2 separate regions of the Homo sapiens genome follow, and region 1 is linked to region 2. The links are contacts of gene promoters, found by promoter capture Hi-C in human tissues and cell types (Jung and others, 2019). All regions are on one chromosome and are shown on one strand. Each heading gives the region's core, a stretch centred on a gene start or on the middle of the fragment in contact. The rest is flanking DNA. Distances are from core to core; before and after follow the strand shown. Region 1 overlaps GABRG2 (gamma-aminobutyric acid type A receptor subunit gamma2). Region 2 holds the start of GABRG2 (gamma-aminobutyric acid type A receptor subunit gamma2).

Evidence for each region. The method cuts DNA at HindIII sites, captures the fragments that hold promoters and counts their contacts. A contact is called where the count stands out against the background at its distance.
Region 1: a fragment that was not itself captured here is called in contact with the fragment with the promoter of GABRG2 in region 2 in 3 of the 25 tissues and cell types used here (H1 embryonic stem cells, dorsolateral prefrontal cortex and hippocampus).

What each region holds. Positions count from the first base shown.
Region 1 is chr5:162,111,841-162,118,586 of GRCh38, forward strand. The region is part of intron 6 of GABRG2 (gamma-aminobutyric acid type A receptor subunit gamma2); the gene reads left to right. Among named protein-coding and RNA genes, the nearest start is that of GABRG2, 47 kb to the left of the region's middle. The HindIII fragment of the contact is 8,232 bases long and covers 1-6,746 here.
Region 2 is chr5:162,065,081-162,071,473 of GRCh38, forward strand. It overlaps GABRG2 (gamma-aminobutyric acid type A receptor subunit gamma2), which reads left to right and starts at 2,693. Exons shown (of 10, transcript NM_198904.4): 1 at 2,693-3,026. The coding sequence starts at 2,920. The HindIII fragment of the contact is 5,062 bases long and covers 1-4,722 here.

The DNA.
Region 1 (6,746 bases), core at 2,289-4,788, 48 kb after region 2:
GAGACATGCAACAATGAAGTATTAGCACTTAATATGGTAGCCATATATATGAATCAACAATATGTTAACCTGTAGGAATACCAATTATCTTTAGATACAGCAAAAGTATAAAGTGAGAAACTTAATTTAGCAATTATATCGTTTCATTTTTCATAAAAGTTATTTACTGCTTATGAGATAGTATTATTTACTAGTTAAGTGGTCATTACTACTCACAAGTTAAGTGGATCTGCACAAGACCATTCAAATCTGACTGTAATTCAAAAATTGTTGAATCCAGTGTATTTGTGAAAACTTGTTCTTTGAAAAAAATCAATTTGAGAGAATATATAATGAAAGGTTTGCATGACTACTATTTACGATAAATTTTAAGATTAATATTTTTGACAGTCTATCAAAACCAACCAGATCAAAAAAGCATTTTTTTTTTTAATCCAAGTTGTTGGTATTTTCTAACCCAGCTGAAAATCCTATTTTGCTACATTTAAGAGACATTTACATCAGTGTGACTGATATAACTAATAGATCTCTAATAAACAGCTACTGCCCCAAAATAAATTTGAAAGACATTTTTTTTTTGAAAATGCAAAAATGTGAGAGAATGAAGACTGAGCCTTCAGAGATGATACTCTACACATAAACTAATTGAAGATTACTTTTACCCTATTTGATGTAAGTGAATGATTCCTTCATCTTATTCTTGCAGTTTCAGAAAATAATGCTATTCAGCATTGCAGATACGCACTTTTAAGCATATCACAGACTGGAAATGGGCAGCAAATAGCAATAAGGAAAATGTATTCTTTTTAAAATATTTTACCTTCTTTTCTTTAAAAGGAGATTTTTATGAAGGCCACAACATTGTGTTGCACAACATTCTAGAAAAGAATTTGCTGGGCATACAGATTAGGGGCTGACTAGAGTTTATTTACCATTTTCACCTGCCATTCATGTAATACATTTCATTTAAGAGATCAAGAACATCTAATTTTAGTAGTACATCCAGCAAAACAGAAACAGATAGTAAAACCCCAAGGAAAAAGGATTGACCAATATGTTAAACATGGTTTACAATGTCACTTTTTTGTTTGCTTTTATTTTTTATTTTATTTTATTATTATTATTATTTTGAGACAGAGTCTCGCTCTGTTACCCAGGCCGGAGTGCAGTGGTGAGATCTCGACTCATGCAACCTCCACCTCCCAGTTCGTGCCTCAGCCTCCCAAGTAGCTGGGATTGCACACGCACGCCACTATGCCTGGCTAATTTTTGTATTTTTAATAGAGACGGGGTTTCACCATGTTGGCCAGTTTGGTCTCAAGCTCCCGACCTCAGGTGATACATCTGCCTAGGCCTCCCAAAGTTCTGGGGTTACAAGCATGAGCCACCATGCCCAGCCTGGTTTGTTTTTGTATAAGGGTATCTCTGCTGTTCAAGAAATTCACAGTGCTTTACAGTTAACATAGAAAAACACATCATAGATGTCTAATTTTTCACATTTCTCTGTTTTCCAATTTATCCACTCCAAAATTAACTACTCTTTTCAGTGCACCATGTTCCACAATGATGACAAGAAGATATACTAAAAAGTTCTATTCTCTTAAAATTAGTTCTTCTTCCATGCCCACTACAAACCTAATTGTTTTGCCCATAAGCACTTCACTAGCAGCTTTATAAGATGATATCTTTCTTTAGAAACACTGGAGTACAATAAATAAGTTACATTGCCAACAAGACTCAAAGATGAAAGCTTCAGTTTAGACAAGTGAGTTTACTGGATTAGTTTCCAAACATAATTTGTAATCTGCCTATACTCACATGACTAATAGCACCATGTACCAATGATATACTTTCATCATTACATCTATTGTTCATTGCTAAGTGGTGAAGAGTTATGTAGTATCAAAGACAATGTGTAATTCACAAACTGTGTAACGGTTCCTTGTTAAAGAGGTAATGCAATCATGGACACCAATTGTAATCGCCTACTGATCACATTTCCTTATGGGTGGTTTCTTGTTACCAGTATTAGTGACTAAGAGTGAAGTAGAATTGGTATAAAAATAAAATTTTAGGGCTAAATCTTAAAGACCAAGCCCAGTTGTAATTTCACTTACAGGGAAATTACTCCAAAGAGGTAAAGTCAGAGCTTCTGAATTTTGACAGCCCATTATTTGACTCCTGCCTATAGCAGGGTCTTTAGGATGGACAGAGTTAAATTTCATTTTATTTCTCAACTAATAATAAACAACTGATAATTTTCATGGGAAATTTAAAAGATTCTTATATCCTAAACATCTGAGAAAGCCCTCATTCCCATGTAAAAATAATTATGTAGAGCTGAATTATCACCTGTCTCAACATGTGGGTAATACAATCTCCAGTTTACCAAAGTCTCTACTACTCCCTGTCCTATTTCCTATTTTTGGAGTTATGTTTTCTTCTTGAGTTACTGTTTTCATATTTTGGAAAGCAATGTGTAGGTGTATCGCTATAAAAATGGGGAAAATTAGAGATAATTAATATGAGATAGCATATGTATCTGTAGAGATGAAAAATATTATTTTATCTTTTAAAATAAAAGATAATGGGAGGCTGAGGCAGGAGAATCGCTTGAACCCAGGAGGCAGAGGTTGTGGTGAGCCGAGATAGCACCATTTGCACCCCAGCCTAGGCAACAAGAGCGAAATTCTGTCTCAAAAATAAATAAATAAATAAGATAAATAAAGGGCAAAGAGGATTTTTCTATCACAAAATGACACTCTAAAAAATGAATGCTAAAACTATGACTTAACCAAAGTTTGCCTGAAAATAAAGATTAGGTGAATTGCAAAGAAGTGCCAGAATTTTGTCAATCTAGATCTCACCTTTTGACATTCTGCAACTGGGCTTATGTATCATAAATATCTAACATAAGCAATGTTAAGTTCATTCAGTTTATCTCTACTGTCCACTTTCATGGAAGATGGATTTTGAATAAAAATAAAATTGCAAAGTTCTATATATGGACATCTGTGCCTGTAGTCTTCACCGTCTTTTAGTTTCTTTTCCAACTCACATGTAAGCAGCTAAAAGCTTTGTTGCCGTTTTTGGTTTGTTGCCGTTTTGCTTTGTTGTCGTTTTGCTTTGTTGCCATTGTCTTGCACATTAGCAGTCTTGCATTGTCAATCAAACTGATACTTTGTCCCTTTGTAGTTTTCTGAAGATCTACATAGTTAATGTTCTGCAATAAAATCCTATTCTTTACTTACTTTGATAAAATGAGGCAGCTGTGTATAGAGCTCTGCATACCCTATGATTCCCATTTAAAGGTTTCCATTTTGGTTGTGGTATCATGTAGCTGAATGACCTTAAGGAAGTCATTTTCTCTTTGAACCTGCAATTTCTTCATCTCAAAACAAATAAAAATCAGACTAGACTGATTTTGAAGGTTTACTTCACTCCTGAAACACTGTGTCATATTTCCTGGTATTTAACATCTCTGTTACGAAGCAAACATATGGTGGGTATTTGCGTTCTCTATGTCCCCTAGAATTCCTAACAAAACTTTTATCATGTTTTCTTATTATGTCACATTCAGAAATTAACAGATTTACTTTGTCTGTCCCGTGTGGAGATCTTAGGTGAGGGAAGGGGACCAGGGTGTTGCCATAGAGATGGTTGATAAGTTAGCTAAGGTCTGATAAAATGAATTCAGCATGGAAACATAGACCTGCCATGAGTGGGAGGAGCAAGGGTGGATGCTAACTGAAATTACTGTGAATGAGAAATTGGGGATGGGGTGAAGGTAGGACAGTGGCTGTGACATGGCTTTCAGAGAGGAAGGAAAAGATACTCAGGTCTTCAAACAGGAAGAAGATTTGCCATCAAGAGTGCATAAAAGGACCTTAATTTATTAGCCTATTATTTTGTTTTTAATATCTTAATTGTATAAATTGGCTGAACTTGTATAGTCCTGTGAGTCGGCAGTCAAAATAATAATGACACCACTACCTCTAAAATAATAATGATAATGATAATAATGACAATATGTGCTAACATTGTGAAGCACTTTCTATACATCAGCTCATTCATTTTTCACAGCCATTCCATAATATGATGCTCATTTTCCAGATGAAATTTCCAGGTACAACCAACCTTGTAGAAAAGTTGACAGAGAGGGTAAGAACCTTGTGCAATATCATGGTGTAAGTTACTGAATAGACACTCATCTTTCCTGACTGACAGTCTGATTCCAATTATGAATTAAACACCAAGGGGTGTGCGTGCATGTGTGTGTGTGTGTGTGTGTGTGTGTGTGTGTGTGTTTCCAGAAAGGATTACTCTTGGCCCTATTTCTTTATCTAGTGTGTAATTTATGTTCCTGTTATTGTTTTGGCATCTATCCATCTACCAATCTATCTATCTATCTAATCTATCCTTTATCTATTTATCTTAAGCTGATTGCATATAAGTATGGTAGAGTCAGTCTGTATTGGTCAGCTTAATCTAGACAATGCTATGGTAACAAATAACCCTCAAAATCTCAGTGGATTAAAGTAAGAACAATCTCAATTGTTCTACCTCCAGTGTTTCTTTATTCTGTGGTATATCATTCTCATAGCCAAAAGGGGAAATAATAGAAGAGTAAAATTGTCCTTAAAACCTCTGCTTTGTGGGTCTTAAGTAATTTTGACTCACATTCTACTGACCAAAGCAAATCCCAAGAACAAGCCTGATGTCCATGGAATAAGATGCACAATGCTTTCACACAAAGGGGCACCAGGGAAGGCCTCTATAGGGATGGACTTTGTAGGCAGGGGAAGCAAATATCTGGATTACAAAACTGTCACCAACAATTAACAATAGTATAATCCTTTATACTATACATGACTCACCTACCTGGCCATGTCGGAGGGGCCCAGTCACCAGATCTCATGGAGTCTTCTCTAGAAGTAGTGGGGCAGGCAATACTCTGTGACATTTAATTCTGCAATATGGGACCATAACTTTGACAAAGACCTTAGGGAGGTTGAAAGGAATTCCTAATCACGTGAATGGGGAATAGAGTCCCAGGCTTGTGATTTGCCAGTTTTGGTTTCTGTTGGTTTTCAGATCCCAAGATCATGTGCCAGGATAAGTTACTTTTAAAAAGAGAAAGGAATACCATACTCTCAGAGAAAATACTGCCCAAGAATGAAAATGTCTGTCTGAGAATTATCCTCTCAAAAAGAGATTGTTTTGGGTCAAGACTGTCTCACTCTGTCAGTGACCTATAGCATGATTTCTAATTTATGTAAAATTGGTTTCAGAAGAGCAGGTGAGAACACATGATATTAACATGAAAATGATTGTAGGGTGATGGGAACAGTCATATTTTATAAACATAAGCAAAATTTTCTTTGTTGTACTGCTGGGACAGCTTTATTAATTACAAGTCCAAAATATTGGTCCTGTACTAAATTCAATTTTACAGTTATTATTCGGTGTTAACTTCTAAGAAGCGATAAACCAGAATCATCTCCTTGTCAGTAGGAGGAAGTAATTGAAAATGATTTAATAAAGAATGGCTACAAAATAATGTAAAGGTCACATTGTCTTGATTGTTATTATTCTTTTCATGGAAAAAAAAAATCCTTAATGTCTCTAACAGTCCTGTGTAAGAGGAAGATATTGTCAAAAAGAGTAGTTTCAAGCAACTTTTAAAATCTTTTCCTGTATTTAATCTTAACAATTGAGCTACGATTTAACCTTTTCTTTAATGAAGCATTCTTAATTTTGTTCCTCTGTTTTATAGATAAAGTACATGAAGCATAGTGCTAACAATAATTTAAAATATTGCCATATGGCTAGTTATGAGTAGAACTAAAGCTAATTAACAAGTGTAGGGGACCCCAAGCAACTGTTCTCTCCTCTACCCAAGACTGAATTAGTACAAAACAGAATTGCCATTTCATTGGTTGACATTGAATAATTGAGTACTAATAGATATTTTGGTCCTAAAAATCTGCCACTGTTAATATATGCACAGATAAGTAGTGTTGGTAATGATATGGTGATGATAATGATGATGATGATGACGCAGATGCTAAAGCCAACTTTTGTTGAGCATTTCACATATGAAAGACACCGTGTTACGCGCTTCACTAGAACTGTAAACTTGCGACAAATTTTTGCAGGTTTTTGAATTATGGATTCAAATCCTGAGCCAGTATTTGATTTTAGACTCAGCCCCAGAATTTTTGTTGAGTCTTATTTGTAGGTAGTGGTGATTTGGTATAGCAGTTTTGTTTATTTTTTCTCCTCAACTCTTTTTCTGCCATCCATGGTAGTTTTATCAAGGAAAAAAAAACCCAAACTATTGCTGTTCATAGAGGTTCTGATGGTGTGTGTGTGTGTGTGTGTGTGTGTGTGTGTGTCTGTAATAAACATAATAAAAACACGTATTTTCAAGGTACTCATGCCAATTATATACTGTAACAGCCTGATAGGTTTTATTGTTTGCAGTTAATGGCAAGAGTTTTGATAATTAACTCTAACCTAATATGTCTAGTTTTCTTTTTATAGAAACAAGAGTGAGGTGGTAACAGGTGTATCTTGATCAAGGACATTTAAAATCCTTCCCATAACTGGACATATTATCTCTGTCTCAAAGGAAAACTCTGGGTATAATTACATAGGTGCTGTAATAGCAAAACTAGGCTAGAAGTAAAAAGATCTGGCTTTAAGTCCCAGGTAAACTTATAAACATGTGAATATATTTGAGC
Region 2 (6,393 bases), core at 1,443-3,942:
ATTGATTATAAGTATAATCTTAAAAAGGGGCAAGAGTTTACCTCAAAGTTGATAACAAAAGTAATTACTAGATCTCTTATAAACACCAATGAATATAACACATGTTGTAAAATCTTAGGAAATATATTAAAATACTTTTTTTTCAGACAGCAGTCAGCAAATAAGAAAGATCCACAGAGGCATACTGACACCTACTAGCTATGAATGGCACAATTAAATTTGTACTCAGATACTATAAATAGTAAAATTACCTCTATGGTTTCTCTTAATATGCTGGACAAAATTCCATCATTCAATAGCTTCTAATTTATAGGGGCCATTATAAGACTGATAAGGGATTAGTATATGAATCAGTACTTTGTGAATGTGACAGCATTCATTTTCACAGCTTCGTTATGCTTGACAATAAATAAACTCACTTGAGAAACTTAACACAAAAAAATTGGAAATGTCATGTATGGTAGATATTTTATATAGTGTGCAAAAATTGCAACCTTGTGGCCTGGATGCCTACTTGGTTTGGCCTCCTTTGCATTTTAAAAATTAGAACATTTTATTCTGCAATTCTTATTTCCATTTCTTCTGGCAATTCTGACTGGAACTGAACAGTGGCAGCTCCATTTGGATGGAGTATTGGCACTTCAGTGTGCATGGTTTCCACCACTTTACTGATTCATAAACTGCCAATGTCTTCCATTTATCTCACTTGCTTGGGTTTTGTAGGCACTTAAGTAAATACACACATACACACACACACACACACACACACACACACATCTTAGCCTACAAAAGTGTGATTGAATAATTTCACTAAGAAAATATATAGAGCTATAAACAAACTAGGCTCTTTGGAATAAAAATTGTGAACATAAGAAGGGGCATGACATTAGACAGTCATAGTGATGTAGTCCTATAGTCCCAGCTACTTAGGAGGTTGAAGTAGGAGGATTGCTTCAGCCCACGAGTTCGAGGCTGCAGTGAGCTATGATTGTCCCACTGTACTCCAGGCTGGGTCACAGAGCAAGACCTTGTCACTAAATTAAATAAATAAACAAATAAGTAAAAATCAAAGAAGGGGAAAATACCTTCACGGTGCAGCAAAGAACAAGAGCATTATATAAAAAGGGGATTATGTTTGCTCTGCCTCCATTTTAGTCACAATGGAAAGAAGTCAAAACTGCATTTGAATGTGGTTTTCATTGGATTTTTGTCTAAATGCCTTAAGAATAACTCTGCCTAAGGCAGAATTATGAAGCCATGCAGGATTCCAGGTGGGTCTGTCAGGACTTTTTTGCTTCATTGTCAGGATGCATCTCCTCAGCCCATGTGATGGGCAGCAGCCACTGGTAATTCTTTCTGCTTTCCTTGGATATACTTTAGTGTTAGTGATGGAGTGTGGACCTGATTTTCTCATGTTCTATTCCTATGTCTCCTAGACTCCTTACCCAAGTTCCATTCCTGGAAGACTTTTTTCTTGCAAAAAAGGCACTTATTTTGAAACAACTCCTTGTCACTTTCCACAAAGAGCTAAGATTGTTCCTCATCACTACTACTGCTTCCTGCATACTTTCAATGTGGTATCTTGACTTTAAAGAACCATGAAACACTCCCCCACTTTATTTTTCATGATTAATGAAAGGGATTTCCTCTGTGGTGGATGAACTGGTTTGGCATAAAGGGGGTATCTTCTACATATTAGTATCTATAGTAACATTCTAGGCAAGAAAGAAGCATACTAATACCACTCATCCAAACTAAAAACTTTCGGGATTATTACCAAGAACAAAAAATCAACCCCCCACATGACAAACAGAAATCCCTTTGCATTGTTAAATGACCTCCTGATTATACCCCTCTGCCCACCCTTCCTTCAAAAAACAGCCCTCCTATTTTGTGATGTGTAATCTTTATTCAAGCAGCTATCCCCACGCAATTACATTTGTCAAACTTCAAGCAGTTTTGTGTCTGTGCATTTTCACTGGGGTTGGAGAACTGACAAGGGAGGAATGAATCTTGAGTAGCATAGAATTTCTCCATGTCCTTTAATTCTATCAATGTTTTCTTCTCTCATTCAAATTGAATTCACCAAATCTGTCTGCCTACAGGATGACTTACTGAGACACTCACACCTCCCCCACTGTCTGCTCCCCCAGCTCTAACAATGCAACCATGATTTCTAAGACTGTACGAGTTTAAAATAAGGATTCTTGGCAGATCTGACGACCACAAACCTTCTGTCATTGATGATGTAGCTTCTGGGCTTGCTAAAGCATCTCTTGTCCCCATGAATGCCAGTCCTTGCATGCTGGTGTGTGCAGTAAAGGGTTAAAAAGCTTTGGAAAGACACCACGCATGTGTTAATTCGTGCTGCAGCAGCGTGCATCACTTCCACTTTGACCTCATAGTTAATCTGCGTGATAGTTAATCACGCAGAGTCTCTAGTGATTTTTTTCCTATTTATTTTAAATACACACACCCACAGGGCTCTGCCCCCTGTAAAAGAAAAAAAATCAAAACAAACAAATAAATAACCCCAAAGAGATGGACCCAGGGGAGAACGCGTAAGTGTGAGGGGCATGAGTATACACGAGTGTGCGTGTCTTTCCCTCTCCCTTATTTGTCTCCGTATGAGTCTCTCCTTGTACCCTCCCCCTGCCTCGATGATATTACTCCCCCAGACTTGGAAGCCGCTGCCAGAGTGACGCTTTGATGGTATCTGCAAGCGTTTTTGCTGATCTTATCTCTGCCCCCTGAATATTAATTCCCTAATCTGGTAGCAATCCATCTCCCCAGTGAAGGACCTACTAGAGGCAGGTGGGGGGAGCCACCATCAGATCATAAGCATAAGAATAATACAAAGGGGAGGGATTCTTCTGCAACCAAGAGGCAAGAGGCGAGAGAAGGAAAAAAAAAAAAGCGATGAGTTCGCCAAATATATGGAGCACAGGAAGCTCAGTCTACTCGACTCCTGTATTTTCACAGAAAATGACGGTGTGGATTCTGCTCCTGCTGTCGCTCTACCCTGGGTAAGATGTGCCCTTTTTGGCGTCGTTTTGTTCTGAAGAGGTGGGGGGAAGGTGTGGGGAGGGGTAACTCGGGAGACCACCCAGATTTAAAACACTCTCCTAGGATGTGCGGCTTTACAATTTAGGAGAGAGCGAATATATGGGGCGGGGACTGGAGGGAGGAAAGTGGAAGGTCACTTTCGTTAATGTATTCATTTATTGGATTTTATTTTATTTTTTGTTTGGTTTTAGAGTGGAAAAGGTAACCTCATAAAGACTAAATATTTAGGGAGTAGCATTTTGACATTATTGCAATCTGATATCGGAGTGGGCTGTGCTGATACACGCCGGCATTTGAGGCCGTGTTGCAAGCATTTTGGGTGGGGGTCTGATGGAGAAATTTACAAATGGGTCCTGGCGCACACCGGAGAGATATGTGTGAGGGAGCTGGGGGGAGGGGCGGCGGGCGGCCCTGTTCCTGTGTACTAAGGCATCGCATGCTTCTGCACCTGGCATTCTTAAGGTCAGTCAGCCAGGTTTTGCATCCAGTCCCATTGACCCAACAGCCAACTACCCGTGTGCAAACATGGTTCAGCACCAGGGACAGCAGTCCTGGTGAGGGCCAAAGGGATAGAGGCTTGTCTAACCTGATAGAACGTCTCTAAATATACTCAGGGCATCCACAGAGTCAGAGAGAAGGCCAATGAAGCCACGGGGCACTAATGAAATATACAGATCCTGATCTGTTTACCTCTACTCCCTCCTTGATATGGGAAGGGGACTATTGGGCATAGGGTGGAGAACGTAGTTAAATGATTGCATAGGGGAATATACGTCTGGAAAAGAGTTGGCCTTGCTGCAGTGTTGGAAAATATGCTGAACCAGGTGAATGTGATGCCATAATCGTGAAGTACACATTAATGTTTTAAAACCTTGCTGCACTGAATAGAAAAAAAAAGGTAAGGCTGGAGACTGGACTCCTGAAAACCCTGAGAATGTGTATGCCCTGAAGTGCCCGGCATTTAAATTTACTTGAACTTTCCTGAGCTAAGAGTATTAGAGGAGCAACCATCCATGCAGCCTAGCTGACTATTCGTCTACCTACCTAAGCACCTTCCCCGCTCTCCAAGCTTTCTAACTAGGACCAAAGCCATGTTAGAGGTCCACTATTTACATTACTTGCATTCTTCTATACTTTCATTTTGAAATAAAGTTCTATAAATATACCTCTCATATCCTACCAATATAAAGAAAGACACAAACAAAAACTAGCTATAGAAAATATCAAGACAGTGCCCTAACATTTTTTTGTGGGTCGACAATCTTACATGGTAGTTGTAACAAAAGCAGCTGAAAAGGATGGAGGTTAAACTAGTTTTTAAAAAAATTATTGAAACTAGGCAACTTCTCTGGCCCCCTCTTCTGTAAGATGGGTAATAAGACAGATAGATTTATGATAAAGAGACCCAGGCAAAACAAAGAGTGAAAGCCTCACTTTGGAGTTTCTAAACAGAGAGAGGGTCTGCTTAACTCTTCCAGCACTTTTTGTACCTTACTAATTTACTATAAAAATAGAATGTATTTTCACTAGGATTATAACATTTCAGTAGCTTTCTCAGAATATGAGAGGGCCTTTTACTGGAAACAGTCTTATATGTAATACAATTTGGTGAAATCCTGAAAAAAGTAATTTTTTGATTCAAAATTTGAATTCATTTTTATACTTAAGGTTGTGGATAGCTATTAATTTGTTTCGGAAATTAGAAAACAGTTACTTACTAAAAGAAAATATCTTTCCCCTATTTCTACCATTAATGAAACCTGTGGATTAAAATCTAGACAAGACACAAGGGAATGTCTTTCTTTTTGACTCATCTCCATCTTAGTAAACAGTTGTCTAACTTAATAGATAAAATATTATGTATTTTCTCTCCAGTAACCCTATTTTAACCTAAACATGTTTAACTTTACTATAGTTTATAAGAAAATAGTATTTAAGATGTCTTCTTGTTGCCACAGCCCCACCTTTTCCATTTCAATGTCTTATACAAAGTAAATTTGATGATACATTTTAATTTTCAATTTGTACCAGACTATCTTAGATGAGTTTTTTAAAAGAGCTCTATAAATATGAGCTATCTGTAATGGAAACTCCCAAAAGTGGTAATTTTTACATTCTCTCATAGTGACAGAGAATGGAGTCATTGCTGTTTGGTGCAGAGAATGTGATCAGAGTTTCAGTCTGCTGCAATCCCATAAAAAAAGTCATTTGAATTGTTGAGTAGGACTGGAGGTAAATAGAAGCTTTGATTTATAAAGTTGATCCTGAGGAAGGACAATAAATAACTGGGAAATATTTGAGACATGAGGAGTCCATAGGAAGTGGTACTTATGAAATAATACTTTTGTGGTAGACAGTAGTAGCAGAACCACCTAGAAAGTTAAAGATAAATAAAAAAAAAATTGGTTTTTTATTTATGTAACTCAAAAGATTGTTTTCGCCCTCATTAAGTGACAAAATTTATTAGTCTATGTCTTTACAAAAGTGAAACAAAGAGAAAAATAAAGCATCGTAGTGAGAATATTAATAACTAATATCTCTTCTTATAAGTGAAATAGTTAATTTCTGAAACCCAAAATTTTTGAAACATTCACATAGCTTGTGCTGTCATAAAAAATAACCTGGGGAACTTACTAAAATGGAGATTCCTACACTATACACTGAATGCTTTTGAATCATTATGTCTGGGGAGAAAAGGAATATTCAACAGGAGTATTTTCAACAAGTACCCTAGACCTCACTTTGAAGAAAAGTGGTCTATACTTTTCTGATTTCCAAAAGTTTATCATCATATTTAATATTTAAAGGTGTTTTGATTATTCATACTTTATTATTCAGTTGGGCAGAATGAATCAATTTAACTTCAATCTTTTATTTGTATGTAAATCATTGAGAATATTATACATATAACAAAGCATAAGGAATAGTATAAAGAATACACCAACATTAGTTATAAGAAGATATTGGCTCCAAAAAAATAAAACATATATACATATATAAATGTGTATGTGATTATATTGAAAAACTATATATATACCACATATATATGCATAGAGATTTTAAAACAAATCTTATAACTTTATAAACTTTTTCAGTGTAATTTTATTCCATCTCAGAGTAAAAATACCCTAAAGGGAAAAAAATATATAGAAAAACATAAAAAATAATTTAGAGTAAATAAGAATAACTGAAACATAAAATGTTTTTATTTTATTAGAATAAAACAAGATTTTGTAATATACTTAGAGTGACAAATAATTATTTTTCAAGGATAAATTGAGCAGAAATAAAATGGACTGAATTTTTGATGATCTGTCTAAACTTTAC